2 separate regions of the Homo sapiens genome follow, and region 1 is linked to region 2. The links are contacts of gene promoters, found by promoter capture Hi-C in human tissues and cell types (Jung and others, 2019). All regions are on one chromosome and are shown on one strand. Each heading gives the region's core, a stretch centred on a gene start or on the middle of the fragment in contact. The rest is flanking DNA. Distances are from core to core; before and after follow the strand shown. Region 1 has its middle 63 kb from the start of GFI1. Region 2 holds the start of BTBD8 (BTB domain containing 8).

Region 1 (2,700 bases), core at 175-2,674, 340 kb after region 2:
TTTGAACCCAGGAGGCAGAGATTGCAGTGAGCCGAGATCGTGCCACTGTACTCCAGCCTGGCGACAGAGCGAGACTCCGTCTCAAAAAAAAAAGATCTGGCTTCCTGGCTGGATGCCATGGCTGACGCCTATAATCCCAACACTTCGGGAGGCTGAGGCAGGAGGATTGCTTGAGTCCAGTAGTTCAAGATCGGCCTGGACAACATAGTGAGACCCTGTCTCCACAAAATTAAAATAAAAAAATTAGCTGTGCATGGAGGCACATGTTTGTAGTCCCAGCTACTCGGGAGACTGAGGCAGGAGAATTGCTTGAGCCCAGGAGATTGAGGCTGCAGTGAGACATGATGGCCCCACTGTACTCAAGCCCAGGTGACACAGTGAGAAGCTGTCTCAAAAAAAAATTAAAATTAAATTAAATTTTTAAAATCTGGTTTTCTGATGTAAAAGCTTGCTCAGAGATCACAGGCTGTGGTTTCCTTTTTGTTTTTTTTTGTTTGTTTGTTTGCTTTGTTTTTTGAGATGGAGTTTCGCTCTTGTTGCCCAGGCTGGAGTGCAATGGTGCAATCTTGGCTCACTGCAACCTCTGCCTCCCGGGTTCAAGCAATTCTCCTGCCTCAGCCTCCTGAGTAGCTGGGATTACAGGCATGCGCCACCACACCCGGCTAATTTTGTATTTTTAGTAGAGATGGGGTTTCTCCACGTTGGTCAGGCTGGTCTCGAACTCCTGACCTCAGGTGATCTGCCTGCCTCAAGCCTCCCAAAGTGCTGGGATTACAGGCATGAGCCACCGTGCCCAGCCAAAAGCACATCTCTTCTAATTGCTGCCACAGAACAGAAAGGAAGCTTTTCTTTCCAAAAAATGTTTATTCTCCAGTTGCCTAAGGAGAAACAGCGCAGGTTAAAACGGAACAGGTCAAAACTCCCATGCTAATCAGTAGTGGGATTTCACCTACGAATGGGCACTAATGGGCACTGCACTCCAGCCTGGGCAACACAGCAAGAACCTGTTTAGAAACGTATTTTTGTTTCATTAAAAAAAGCTTTAGTATGTTTTCTTCTCACTTGCTGTAATTGGAGGAACCTATTCTTGGAGGTAGGATGAGGTCAGTCCCATCCAAACCTATGGCTCAACGGAAGACAGTGGACAGGTCCCCAGAGGAAGATCAGGATATAATTTGACCAAAGGATGGAAGATGTTTACTACAGGTCTCTACTAGACACCAAGCACCATGCTACATTCTGGAGACATAATGTTCAAAGACACAATTCCTGCCTTCCAGGAGTTCACAGGAGAACAGTGATGAGGAAACAGTTATAATACAGCACAAGGAGAAAAGCATGAACCTGAGAACACACAGGAGCTCCTCCTGCTCAGCCACTCCAACGGGGTGAAGGGTCATAAAAGAGTGAAAGTGGGGGGTTGTCATGGAACTTCCCAAAAGAGGTAAATCTTTTAAACTTTTTTTAACATTATTTTTTACACACAGCCTCCCATAGGAGAAGGGAGTGAAATCTTGAAGGATAAGTAAAGCTTTATCAAGTGTAGATGGAAGAAGGGATTTCTAAGCACAGAGCACATCAGCAAAAGCATAAAAATCTCAAGAAAATGGGAGTAGCTGAGAATGACTGGACCATAAAGTACATGCAAGAGCCAAGGAGAAGAGGAAGCAGTCAGGAGAGAGTGGTGACACACGAGGCTGGAGAGGTGGGCAGACCTCAAAATCAGGCCGTGCTGACATTTATGCCAAGATTTAAGTGGCATTGACATAAACTCGACAGTTGGAGATCTGGGTAGGGTAAAGCATGAGGAAAACGTCAGGCAAAAAAACAGGGAACCAGAAAAAAGCCTGAAAAGGTGTTACCACAGAGGTGGAAGGACCAAGTAAAACAGAAGGAAAAACATTTAAAAGGGAAAGATAGGAAGTGGCAGTTGCTGCAAAGAGATTAGGGAGGCTAATTCCTGAGAAGACTTGTGATTAGTAATTAATATTGACCTTGACCTCTGACAGAACGATTTCAGTGACAGTGAAAGGGTTACGTTTGCTTGGAATTTAGTGAATGGGATTTAAAGTTGAAGTGACGACAGTAGGCTACTCTTTCAAAATATTTATGTTTTGCAAAAGCTATGTATCCAAATACTTATAAGATGCACTCAGTAATTCCCCTTCAGAAATTTATATTAAAGAAATAATCAGAAATATGTGCAAAGATGTATCACAAAGGTTGTACTGTTACTAATTATAGCAAATAATTGAGAATAACCTTGTGGTTATGGTTTAAAATGGCTAAATAAATTATAATGCATCCATATAATGAAAAGTTTAATGCCATGATTAAAAAATAATGTGGTAGAATACTTACTGGTAGAGTAGAAGTGTCAGATTACAAAATATAACATCCAGAATGCTCTCAATGTTGAAATAAATGAATATTATATATGCACAGAAATAAGATTTGAAGGATATAAACCAGAATGTGAACCTCAGTAGTTACCTCCAGAAGTGTGATTACAAGTGTTTGAAACATGTTTAGTTATTTGTACTTTCCATTTTTCTACTATAAATATATATTACTTTTGTAATGAAAAATACTAAGAGCTTGACAATAGAGAAAGGAGGAAGGGATTAGCTTTGAGGGAAACATGGTAGAGGCTTCTATAGTTCGAGGAAGATTTGAGCTTGTTTATGGGTCAAGGGAAAA
Region 2 (2,700 bases), core at 162-2,661:
CCTATCCTTTGTATGCCTCAGCTTCCTCATCTGTAAATAGGTCTGAAGACAGTACCTAGCTAAATGGTTGTTGTAAGGATTAACTGAGTTAAAACACACAGAGCAAATAGAGTAGCGTTTATCACATAATAAGGATTCAAATATAAGCTACTATTATGTTATCTTTGACACCCCTCGTTTCTACAGGAATAATTAAGAATCAATTATCCATCCAAGCATTTGGGAATTAATTTTAAAAAATCAATTATCCAGTTATATTTTTCAGAATTAAGATGTCTGAATATTTGAGAGGGGGCATTATCTGAAGAAATGGTTACCTCTTGGCCAATCTTATGGTACAAATACAAAGTCCATATATTCCCCTCCCCGCCTCCTTTTTTTTTTTTTTTGTTTGGTAGAGACAGGGTCTCCTTATGTTGCCCAGGCTGGTCTCTAATTCCTGGGCTCAAGTGATCCTCCCGCCTTGGCTTCCCAAAGTGCTGGGATTACAGGTGTGAGCCACCGCAACCTGGCCAATGTATTTTCCAAGCAATTACTATTCTTCACCTTGTGTGTAGAGTTTGTGAATGAAACAGATTTTTTTTTTTTTTTTTTTTTTTGAGACAGGGTCTTGCTGTGCTGTTCAGGCTGGAGTGCAGTGGTGCAATCATGGCTCACTGCAGCCTCGACCTCCCGGGCTCAAGCCATCATTCCGCCTCGCTTCCCAAGTAGATGGGACTTGCCCGGCCCGAAGCGGAACTACTGAGTTTCCTTATTTTGGAGGCAGTAATCAAATAAAAAATACCAAAACCTTAAATGATAATCAGTTTGCTACTTTATTTGGGACAAAAGAGAATTCTATATTTCATCCATCCATCACTTCACTGCTCAAAGACTTTGCCCCTTACCTATTTCTCCCTTCTTGGTCATAAATGTTAGGGCTTTATATGCAAAGCCCTGTGCTTTCTCCGATCAAGTCCAAAAGCTTGTATGAGCCACTCCTTGGATAAGAAGGGGATGGGGCCTTCTAGATGCTGTAAGTATCTCTTATATTGAACTCAGAATTGTTCTGACTGGCAGTTTATGAAGTTCTTCCCCTACTCCTCCCATCGCCAATTTTTCTTGCCCCAAACATTTATACCTCAGGGTTAAGAAGCCAGGTAAGTGAGGGGGTGTGACTCGCCCAGTCTTTCGTTGGAAAAAAGTGTAGACCTGTCAGGAAGACACAGCATAGAAAGGCTGCATGTGCTGATTTGAACTCGAGCCTCAGTAAAACATTGAAATGAATGAACACCAACCGGAAGGGAAAGAAGAGGGGAGGGGATAAGGAGCCTGAGGATTGGTTTGCCCCGCGGGATGGTCCGCGCCTGAGCCATGGGAGGCGGGGTGCCCGCCGGCAGAAGTAAACAGAGCGAGTACGCCTGCGCACGCTCTTCCTGGGTCAAGAGCCGGCTCGGTTCTGGGATTCTGAGGCTCCCCACCGCGGTCCGGCTTCTCTGGGAGACTGTCTACAAACCGACGAGAGGCGTCAACCTTTTACCCTAGGGGGCGGATTTGGGTAGGAGCCGAGCGTTCGGTCGGAAACGCCCCCTTCTTCCTCCTGGGCGGGGCAAGTGAGGCCAAGTACTGGGCCTCCAGGGCGTCGTACCTCTGTGAGACATGGCTCGCTGTGGGGAAGGCAGTGCGGCCCCCATGGTACTTCTGGGGTCCGCTGGAGTTTGCAGTAAGGGGTTGCAAAGGAAGGGGCCGTGTGAGCGGCGCCGGCTGAAGGCGACGGTGTCGGAGCAGCTCAGCCAGGATTTGCTCAGGTAGGAGGAGGCGGGAACTCTGGCTGCTTCAGTTCCTAAATCGCCCACCTCCGCCCCGAAGCTGAGGCTTCTTTCGGCTCTGCCTCCCCCTCCCTCAGCACTTGGTTCTCCTCGCCTCAGGCGACTGCGGGTCGTTAGCCAGTCTCCCCACTATTCCGAAAAGTGGCTTCGCTCGCCCTGAATAAACAATCCCGAGCACCTCGACACCATGTACCAGATTCAAAAGGAAAACAAAAAAAGCTTAGTCGTGTGCAGCACTAGTTTGCTAGAAATATCTCAACACAGGCACGCTTAGTTGTTTCCAATCACTAAGGTCGGGTGGATCCAGGTCCTGAAACTTACACAATTTTTAAAATAAGCTTATACTATTTTAAGAAAAATAATAAAATTAGGAAAACGATTATTTGAAATGAGGAAAGAACAATACTATAGTCTTGGAGGTCTCTTCTGAGGTCTCTTTAAACAATTTACCAGAAATGCTTCCTGATTGCGACCTGGATTCCTCTCTCCACCTAGAGCTCTCTGTAGCTCCCAGCAACTCTCAGCTCCTGTGAGGACCAAAGCAAATGGAGGGTCTTCCTGACATTTAACCTTTGTAAGCCTCATGGATATCCTTCTCGGGTTATTGGGAATCCAGCTAAAGTAATTTCAGCTTACAAAGAAATTGAAGCTTAGAAATATGACCTAGCTAATTTACATTTCCAGCAAGACATTGATTCTTAAACTTGGGTGGGCATCACTGAAATTTTCCATTTCTAACAAGGCCCCAAGTGATGCTAATGCTGCTGGCTAGGGTGACTATGAGAACCACTGAGGTAAACATAATTACTAATAATTAAAAGTTGTGCAGCATTCTACTTTTTTTTTTTTGGAGACGGAGTCTCGCTCTGTCGCCCAGGCTGGAGCGCCGTGG

What was found. Contacts are between HindIII fragments. The study calls those that stand out against the background at their distance.
Region 1: a fragment that was not itself captured here is called in contact with the fragment with the promoter of BTBD8 in region 2 in 1 of the 25 tissues and cell types used here (mesenchymal stem cells).

What each region holds. Positions count from the first base shown.
Region 1 is chr1:92,422,899-92,425,598 of GRCh38, forward strand. No RefSeq gene overlaps it. Among named protein-coding and RNA genes, the nearest start is that of GFI1, 63 kb to the right of the region's middle. The HindIII fragment of the contact is 5,594 bases long and covers 1-2,700 here.
Region 2 is chr1:92,078,934-92,081,633 of GRCh38, forward strand. It overlaps BTBD8 (BTB domain containing 8), which reads left to right and starts at 1,412. Exons shown (of 18, transcript NM_001376131.1): 1 at 1,412-1,787. The coding sequence starts at 1,639. RefSeq lists an enhancer at 2,685-2,700. The HindIII fragment of the contact is 3,183 bases long and covers 1-2,301 here.